Regions from separate parts of the Homo sapiens genome. Here region 1 is linked to region 2. Evidence: promoter capture Hi-C in human tissues and cell types (Jung and others, 2019). All regions are on one chromosome and are shown on one strand. The core of a region is centred on a gene start or on the middle of the fragment in contact, and the rest is flanking DNA. Distances in the headings are between cores, read along the strand shown. Region 1 overlaps BPIFB3 (BPI fold containing family B member 3). Region 2 holds the start of BPIFA3 (BPI fold containing family A member 3).

The links. Contacts are between HindIII fragments. The study calls those that stand out against the background at their distance.
Region 1: a contact is called between a fragment that was not itself captured here and the fragment with the promoter of BPIFA3 in region 2, in 2 of the 25 tissues and cell types used here (IMR-90 fibroblasts and lymphoblastoid cells).

What each region holds. Positions count from the first base shown.
Region 1 is chr20:33,070,270-33,075,172 of GRCh38, forward strand. BPIFB3 (BPI fold containing family B member 3) reads left to right here. Exons shown (of 16, transcript NM_001376932.3): 13 at 984-1,026; 14 at 1,835-1,898; 15 at 2,448-2,524; 16 at 3,307-3,578. The coding sequence ends at 3,336. Among named protein-coding and RNA genes, the nearest start is that of BPIFB4, 6.9 kb to the right of the region's middle. The HindIII fragment of the contact is 5,429 bases long and covers 1-4,903 here.
Region 2 is chr20:33,214,117-33,219,163 of GRCh38, forward strand. It overlaps BPIFA3 (BPI fold containing family A member 3), which reads left to right and starts at 3,236. Exons shown (of 7, transcript NM_178466.5): 1 at 3,236-3,547. The coding sequence starts at 3,421. The HindIII fragment of the contact is 14,641 bases long and covers 1-5,047 here.

The DNA.
Region 1 (4,903 bases), core at 1,356-3,855, 140 kb before region 2:
GGCTAACCAAGAGACAACCGGCCTTGAGTGTCAGGAAATGTGTTGTTATTTATGTGGACTTGTTACTTGTTACTTCTCTATTCTCCTCACCCCTGTGGTAACTAGGCGTCCATCAAGATAATCATAATGACCAGAATGATGGTGTTGGTGACAGTCCTTCATCTACACGCACAGTACTTTACAGTTTGCAAAGCACCATCTACATGCACAGTACTTTACAGTTTGCAAAACGCCGTGCTGGCCCAGGCTCACACGGCAGGCCGTCCCTAGAGCAGGTCTGCAGTCTGGGCCTCAGTGCTGTCACCATGGCAGGGCCCCGGCCTGTCTGTCCCTCCCCTGGCAGTAGGGACTTTCCTGGAGATTGCTGAGACCTGACGTCCTACGCCACAGGCACCCAGTGCTCCTCTGACTCCGTCTTAGCACCCCCACAGGCTCCTCAGGCCACTGCTGGCCTCTGCCTTCCATTGTTGCCCCATTGCCGACTTTGATGGAGGGCCTCGCCTGCTGCCTGGGTGCACCTCCACTTCCTGATGGCAGTTCACGCCTCAGTCTTTTAGGAGGTAGAGATGCGTGCCCAGGCTCTGGCCCTGAATCTGCACTTGGGCCAGATATGATCCATCAGTGAGTTGCTGCCTTGAGTGAGCACCTGCTGTATGCAAGGCACTCTGTGTCCAGTGCTCAGTCTGGGGGAGGTCACTCCTCTGAATGGTTCAGCCACCTGCCCAGGGTCAAATAGCTGGGAGTCAGACAAAGGCGCCAAGGCCAGAGGTGGTGGTCATGATGCCTCAGAAGGGAGGTTAGGTCCCTTTGGGTCCATTTTACAGGTAGGAAAACTGAGTCTCTGAGTCAAGGCTGGATAGAGGCAGAGTGTTGGGCTGGTAATCCTGTTTCCTGATGATGAGAGCTATGGTGGGGCAGGCTGGGGGTGGGACAGGGGTGGTTGGGGGTAGCGGGGGCCCCAGCATCTCTCTTCTCTCCACCAGGCTCAGTGTCAAGGTGGCCTCCTCCTTTACCCATGCCTTTGACGTAAGTTCCTGGGAGGGTGAGGGGCTTGGCAGTGATGAGAGTCTTCAGGTGTGGCATGGAAAGGGGGTGGCCATGAGTCATGGGCCATATGACTGAGCTGACCTCAGGACTGGGATCCTCCCCAATTAAGCCAGAGTGGGCAAATATCAGGGCGGGTGTGCGTGAGAGAGAGCAGGGGGTGTGGGCAGTGGGGAGAGAGAGAGAGAAACAGTGATCATCTTAGGAAAGTGAATCTCATGATCTTCCACGGTCTTGGAACCTCACAAAGTTGTGGACATCTAGAACCTCACAAGGGTCCATCATTCTGGAACTTCTCCCAAGTAATAAATTTCCCGAACTCAGCAAGTTCCATTTCAGAGCTCACAGAGCCCCGAGGTTCCTGCTTCTTACAGAGTTCTGAGGTTCTGGAATCTCACCATGGGCTCAGGTTCTAGAACATTCTCAGAGTCCCTAAACTGACAGGAATCTAAGGTCAGACCCCATAGACTGGAGCTGGGCACATTTCCTTCCCTCTTTCTTAGGCACTGCCCACCTCCAGCCCCAACAGAGTCTTATAGGAAGGCACTTCTTCCAAGCTCATGGGGCCTGGGGTAAAGCCAGCCTAAATCACAGAATCTCTTTCGAGGTCACTGGTGGACAGCCCAGGCCACCCCCAAGTGCCCAGTGCCTGCCAGGAGCTGTGTCCTCAGGCTTGGGGGAGGCTGAGGCAGCTGGGCCCCTGGGTTTCTCTCCCTGGGAACGGGATGCTGCTGCCTGTAAAGCCACACCCCAGAGCACCACCCCCACCACCCTGTGTGTTCTGTTGCAGGGATCGCGTTTAGAAGAATGGCTCAGCCATGTGGTCGGGGCAGTGTATGCACCAAAGCTTAACGGTATGGCAGGTTTTGCTCTCTTGGACACATGGAGTGTCTGAATTTGGTATTGTCTAGTCTGTTGCCTCTCTTTATGGTTCTGATGGGGACACTGAGGCCAGAGAGAGAGGTCGATCCTCATTTGCAAGATGCAGAAACTGAGGCACCAATTTTTCCATTTAAATGACATTGATTAGCACCTACATCTTGCCAGCCTATGGACTTCAAGCGCTGATCTGACCTCAGTCCTGCCTTAAGCTCCCACAGTCTAGTAGGAAATAATCATATAAACAAATGATTAGAATATAGATGACCCAGAGTGTGTAAGGGATTGATGAAGCCTTTAGGAGGCTTGACACGGGGGCACCACTGACACAATACAGAATAGGGACATTTTTGTTTGGGTGTAGGAGGATGAGTAGGAGTTTGCCAATAAGAAGCTGATTCTGTGAGAAGAGAACTGGCTGGCTAGTGAAAGTGATGGAATAGGGTCAGCAGGGTCCGAGGGTTCCTAGGGTCCAAGAGCTCCCCACCAATGTACCTTTGTTTTCAACGATTCTCTTTTCACAGTGGCCCTGGATGTTGGAATTCCCCTGCCTAAGGTTCTTAATATCAATTTTTCCAATTCAGTTCTGGAGATCGTAGAGGTGAGCCTTCTCTGCAGATACGGCCCAGGTGGGCCTTAAGCTTGTCTCTGGAAAGCTCTGCTTGAAACTAATGAGGGGAATGCTTTGCTTCATCCTCTTGTCTGTCCCTGATCCATTTTCTAAATTTCTCAGTGAGTTACAAATTGCCTAACTTAGGAATGGCAAATATATGACATGTGTGCTACTACTCCTCCATTTCTTGCCCATGGCAGACATCATCAATCAATCACGGAGTTCTTTCCCATTGGATTCAGAGACATGTCTGGCCTCTAGAATGGAACCTAAGATTCACTCACAGAATCACAGTTCCCCTGGTCCAACAGCAACAAATACATATGCCATCTCTCCCTTATCTTGTGTCTGCAGCAGATATGACCAATGGATCATGACCCTTTTTCTTGTGGAATATTGATATGGCCTCACAATCCTTTTCAAACCAGCCCAACTTTGGGTGGTGGAATAGCTCTAGGAGGTGGGCAGAGCAGAGAGTTCTGTACCCATTTCTCAGATGAGGACCAAGGCTGAAGTAGGTCAGATTTCTGGCCCAAGTTCACCAGTAAATTAATAGCAGAAATGGCAGTTGAACTTGAGTCTATTAAGTCCTCAAGTCAGAGCCTGTCCCACACTGGATGTCATTTTTTCATCATTCATTTATTCATTTAATGAGTGCCTGCTGTGTTCCAGGTACAGGGCCAATCCCAGGGCAGGGGAGTAAAGATGGCTGCAGGGATGGGGCATTGCAGAGACTCAGGGGTGTAACCAAGAGCGGTTGTTCCTTACAGAATGCTGTTGTGCTGACCGTGGCATCCTGAGGCTGAGACATGGCCACCAGCCTTCCCTGTTGACTACTAGAGACCACCTGTCTACTCTGCCTCAATTTCCCTCCCAGTCTCTAGCTGATGTTGGTGACAGTAAAAATGCCCTCTGGCCCTGAAGCACTACTCCAAGTTTGGGGTGGGAACTGCCTGGCTAATCATAGAACTGCCTCAGAGAGAGCTCTGGGGCCTCAGTAGCAAACCCTGAGCTTTCAATAAATGACTCCTGTATCTCGGTATCTCCTGGCTGGTTTATTCCCCAGTCACGTAGGACTTGACTTGGCCTTTGCCTCCAGTGCCCTCCTTAGCTCCAGGTAGGAGCTTCTGGGAGGTGAGGGGACTCAGGGCCTTGTCATTGTAGCTTTGAGTCCCAAACTGACCTTGTTGGCCTGGGCAGCCTCTGTGTCCTGTTCTGCCTTCCTCTCTGTCCCTGCCCCCCTTGCCTCCAGCTCTCTCTCTCTCTCTTTCTCTAAATACTTCTACTTTTCACTCTCTCTCTCTCTGAGTCTGCATTTTTCTCTGTTTCTGACTTTGGGATGCTTATCAGAAGTGACATCTGAGCTGAATTTTGAAGGGAGAATAGGAGCTTTCCAGGAAACAAAGGCACTAGCACCCCAGGAAGCAAGGATGAGTGAGACTTGTTCTTGCCCTGTGGTGTGGGGGGGTCCCTATTGGCTGCACATCAGACATGGACACAGCTCAGAACAGAGCTGTGCCAAACGCTCTTGGTGCAGATGGGGAGACTGAAGCCAGAGCAGGGCTTGGCTGGCCCTGGTCCACACAGCGGCAGAGTTGGGATGAGAGACTAGGGGTCCTGCCTCTAGGTCCTGGGCTTCTCCCCACTGCTTACGATGGGCACCTTTGGTGAAAAATATCCCCAAGTTGGCACTTACAGATGGCCTGAGTGAAGAAGTGCCAACCAAGTTTTGATAACTGGCTCAGAGGATTTGAGGCTAGGCAATAGGTAGGGGAGACTTGGAGCTCATCTGAAGATTTATCCACAACTCATTCATTCAGCCGACCAGCCAGCCAGCCAGCCTCCCATCCATCCATCCATCCATCCATCCATCCATCCATCCATCCATCCCCCCTCCCATCCAGCCTCCCATCCATCCATCCACTCACCCTCCCATTTAGCCTCCTATTCAACCATTCATCCACCCTCCCATCCAACTTTCTACCCATCCATTATTCTATCCACCCACCCACCCATTCTCCCATCCATCCATCCATCCATCTATCCATCCATCCATCTATCCATCTATCCATCTATCCATCCGTCCATCCACTCATGCATGCATCCATCCATTCATGCATCCATCCATCCATCCATCCATGCATCCATCCATCTTCCCCCCTTCTTCCTTGCTTCCCTTCCTCCTTCCCTTCCTCTGTCCCACCCTCCCTTCCCTTTTCTCGTCCTTTCTTTTCATTCATCCACCCTACATTTATTGGTGCCTGCTACATGCCAGTGCCGGGTGACATGCTCGGGTTTATCTTCCTGTGTCTGATTTCCAGACACTTCCAGTGCTACTGATTCCCATCATGGTTAAATGAGTGGCTT
Region 2 (5,047 bases), core at 1,986-4,485:
TGTGCAACATTGTTTGGCTTGGTGAGTTTTTTTTTTCCTAAAAGACAAACCAAAGCTTCCAGTGCATTTTCAAAATGTCCCCCAAGAAGGTAAAGAAGCTTGTTTTAAGGAAAGCTATTTGGAATAGTGAAGGAGGCTGCTAATGTGTGAGGCTCAGTGGTGTTCCACAGCGCCAGTGTCCAAGGAAAACAGTGTCTGAGGCAGTTCTGGGGAAGGCAAGACAGCCCACTGGGATGCCAGCTCAGCCTCTTCCTGGCTGGGAGCTTAGGCAGCCGCTGGGTTTCTCTGGGTCCCTGTCTCCTCACCTTTGTGGGATGAGGACGGAATGAGATAGACCACAGAGCAGGCTTCACACAGGGAACGGGTCCCAACGGAGAAACGCCAGCCCCGCCAGCCTCCAAGTATTTGCTCATTAAGGAGCTGTCCTCAATCCACCACCATCCTTCCTGAGAGCACCAGCGTGGCGTGCCCAGCCACCCTGGGTTTTTTCCTTGAATGTCAGCTAAAGAAACTCCACCTCCTCAGGGAGGTCTTTTTCCTGACATCCCTTTTCCCCCATTGGCCAGGTATCCCCTCCCTGTGCCCTCTCACAGTACCTCCCACCTCCTTCACCTCTGGGCCATATTTCATAATCATATGCTCAGTTGCAGGGATAATTGAAGACTGTGTGTCTCCCCACTGGTATGTGAGCTCCATGAGGACAAGGACCCTGCCTGACCACTCTCTGTGGGATCCCCAGAGCCCACGGCTCCTGACACTCAGTGTTCATTGATTTTAGTGGTTTTATTCATTGAATGAATGACAGCAAAGCCCACCATCTGAACAGCCACGCGCAAGCTCACTCCAGGACCATCACACCCTCACTGCCATCTCAGCCTCTCTATCATTCCTGCCTGCCTTCTGGAGTTGCATTTCATTCGTGAAAGTACTTGATAGAGGTGGCTCCTGCATTCATTGCACACGTGTCCCAGGAACCATCTTGGGATTCTCATGCTCCATGTCACTGACTCCATCAGCTTCCCTGGTTTACAGGTGAGGAAGGCTCAGAGGCGTAAGGACAAGGAGGAGGATCATCATAATAACATGGTTTTGGAGGACTGGCCCAAGCATGATTCGCTTTAATCCTCACTATAGCTCTGAGGTCTGCACTGTGATCCTTTTACAGACCTGGGAGCTGAGTCTGCCAAGAGACAGAGTCAGCAGTTGAACCCCGGTCTGCGTGACCCTAAAGCACATACTCTGGACTGCATGTGATCCTGCACCGAGTTGGCTTCAAATCCAGTCCCCAGCCCCTGAGCAGGGCCCTCTCATCCCTCCAAATCTGCTCTCTCTTGTCATGCATCAAGCTCTGAAAATCTATACCCTCCATGCTGTCCTTTCATTAGGCTCTGTGGCCCTGAGAACCACAGCCTGTGATGAGGTAGGACCAACAGCTCCTGCCCCATGTTAAGATGTCCAAAGAGCCAAGGACAACAGATTTGTTCCTCCCGACAATGCCCACTCTTCTCTGTTTTCTTGACAATAAATAACAAAATTCCAACCACTTACATAAGACCAGGAAGGCTAGAAAAATACATTTTGAAGTAAGTGATATTCTACAAACATCCCCAAGGGGAGCATGAACTCTGAGAAAGGACCTCAAACAGGGAAAGCCAACACCCTGAACCAAGGCTTTCTCAGTACAATCTCTTACAAAACCAGAGTGAATTGCCCAAGAATAGCCCCAAGGCTTCTGTGAAATTTGCAAAGGACGTTCCCATCCCTCATCCACATGGGACCCTCTATGTCGCCCGTAGTATGGGGAAACAGCACAGGGACAGTGACAAACGCCTTTGTCTCAGAGCTCACAGCAATGGCAAGGTGGGGCCCAGACATCCGAGACCTGTGCTGCTGCAGTGGAGTGGGGAAGAGAGAGCTGCAGGCAGTGCGGTCCAAGAGGATGCAGGGACCCTCCTGGGCCTGGGAGGTGTTGCATGGAATGTGGCTTTTGCTCTGTGTGCAGTAGGAAATGCTGGAGGGTTTTGAGCAGAGGAGTGGCATGGTGGTCTACCTTACATCTTTTTTTTTTTTTTTTTTTGAGTTGGAGTCTTGCTCTGTTGCCAGGCTAGAGTGCAGTGTAGTGTGATCTCAGCTCACTGCAACCTCTGCCTCCTGGGTTCAAGTGATTCTGCTGCCTCAGCCTCACAAGTAGCTGGGACTACAGGCATGTGCCACCACACCCAGCTAATTTTTTGTATTTTTAGTAGAGACGGGGTTTCACCATGTTGGCCAGGCTGGTCTTGAACTCCTGACCTCATGATACGCCTGCTTCGGCCTCCCAAAGTGCTGGGATTACAGGCATGAGCCACCGCACCCGGCCTACCTTACATCTTAAAATGACTGTTCAGGCTGCTGTGTGGAAGAGATTGTGGGTGGGCACAGTTAAAAGCTGGGAAACCAGCCGGGACCCACTGGCAATAATTCAGATCAAGCTGATGGTGGCTGAGGAGTAGTTGTTATATGTGGTCATGTTCTGGAAGTGTCAGCAGGATCTCCTGACAGATGGGTTGTGGGAGATGGGAAAAGGGGAGGAAAGGGCAGCTCCACCGGCTGGGAGTAGAACAACTAGATGGACTTGGCACCATTTCCTAAGAGTGAGGACAGGGGACTTAAACTGAATTCTCTCTGAATCCCAACCCCAGGGCTCCAAGGTCAACCTGATGCTTTGGCTTCAAGAGTCTGTAATTCTTATCCAGAAAGATAAGATCCATCCATCCAGTTATTCATTCATTTGTAGCATTAACAAACATTCACCAGTACTTACCATGTGGCAAACATGGGAGGCACTGTAGACATGAGGATTAATTAGACTCATACCCTGCCCTCAAGAAACTCATAATTCAGAGGAGATTCAGAGATCAACCATCTCCACTCATCAATTCAGTCGTTTGGTCACTCAACAAACATTCATTAACACTCAATTTCTGACAAGCAAGTATCGTGGTAGGGATTGAAGTGGTTGGTCATGCCCTTAAGAAAGTCCTAACCCAATTGGAGAGCCTGGGGTTAGCCATCCTCACTCAAATGTATTCATTCATTGGTTCACTAAAGAGTCACTAACATCCAGCCTGTGCCAGGGTCTGGGAGAGGACTCCTGTTGGATGACCCAACAATAGACTCTGGTGAGTGTCTCCAAGCAACAAGGCCTCCCTCTGGAGCCCTGGCCTCCTCCCAGGGTTCCACATGTTGCTCTCCCAATGTGAGCAAGCCCTGGTGGCAGCGCCAGGGTCCAGTGCAGCCCCTCCCCACAGCATGCTGGGGGCTAATTCTGATGTCATCTTTCTGCAGAAAACCATTAGACCATCCCTCCAGACTGCCACCCTCAAAGCCGTCTGCCCAGGCCCCATCTGACACTCTTGACATCTGCAGGTCCCAGACCCTATGATGTGTCCACTCTGGAGGCTCCTCATCTTCCTCGGGTTGCTGGCCTTGCCCTTGGCACCACACAAGCAGCCTTGGCCTGGCCTGGCCCAAGCCCACAGAGACAACAAATCCACCCTGGCAAGAAGTAAGCTAAGCCCCGGGCTCTGCCTGCTGCCTACGGGGCTGGGGAGGTGGGAAGGTGCCATCTGGGCTCCACTGCTAACCCGCTGGGTGACTTCAGGTTAGTCACTTTCCCTCTTCTCTTTTTCTTAGACCTCAAGTACAGAAAATTGAGGTTGTGTTGATCATATGCCAATTTCTAGCACATCCTCATTGGCACAAATCACTGCAAGGTCCCCCTTTTGTTTTATTTTCTTATTTTCCCCCTTTATGACTTATTCTCACCCCATATCCCTACTGCCTTGGCAGGCATTGCAGCGTGTTTAATGGATGTACTTAAATATGCCTGTGTCCTTGTATGTACAGTACTTTAATTTACATAAATTGTATTGTACTTTAATTTACATAAATTGTATAGTGTTGGGTTTCACTCAGCACTATGCTGTTGACATCTATGTTGCTTCAGCTGGTGCAGAAAGAGCCATAAGATTCATCCACCTCAGTTTATTTGGCTGCTCCCCTCTGGATGGACATGCAGGTTGTCTCTAACTCTCCATGATTATAAACTACACTGAGATGAACCTCCTTGCAAGTGTCCCTGTTACAGCCTGTGGGAGAATTTCCCTGGGATAAACCCAGAAGGAGAGTGGTTGGGTCCTGGGGTAGAGGTGAACTCAATTTAACCAAAACTGCCAGAATCCTCTCTAGAATGGCTGTGTGGTCTACACGTGCTCCAGTAAGAAATGAGCATACCTGTCTCCCCATGTTCCCCAGCACTGCCGAGTACTGAGCTGTATCAGTCAGCTAGGGCTGTCCTCACAAGACACCACAGACTGGGAATTAAACAACACACATTCATTTTCTCACAGTTCTGGAGGCTGGAAGTCCAAGATCAAGATGCAAATAGGGTTGGTTTCTGGTGAGGCCTGTCTTGCTGGCTTGCAGACGGACACCTTCTCGATGTCTCCATACAGCCTTTTCTCTGTGCATGCAGAGAAAGAGATCTGTTTCTTCTTATAAGGACACCAATCCCATCAGTTTAGGGCCATACCCTAATGACCTCGTTTAACCTTAATTAGCTCTTTAAAGGCCCTATCTCCAAAGACAGTCGCACTGGGGGAGGAGAGGGCACAATTTGATCTATGACACTATTTTTCTACTTTTTTTTTTTTGCCAGTTTGATGTGTAGTTGAGTGATAACTACTTGTTTTAGCTTGACTTTATCTGGTGAGTGGGAAGTTTGAGCATCTTATACTTTTGTTAACCATTTTGACTTTTTTTCTTGGAGACAGAGTCTCACTGTGTCACCCAGGCTGCAGTGCAGTGGCATGATCTTGGCTCACTGCAACGTCCACCTCCCAGGTTCAAGCAATTCTCCTGCCTCAGCCTCCTGAGTAGCTGAGATTACAGGTGCATGCCACCATGCCCGGCTAATTTTTGTATATTTAGTGGCGATGGGGTTTCATCATGTTGGCCAGGCGGTCTCGAACCCCTGACCTCAAGTGATCTACCCACCTCGGCCTCC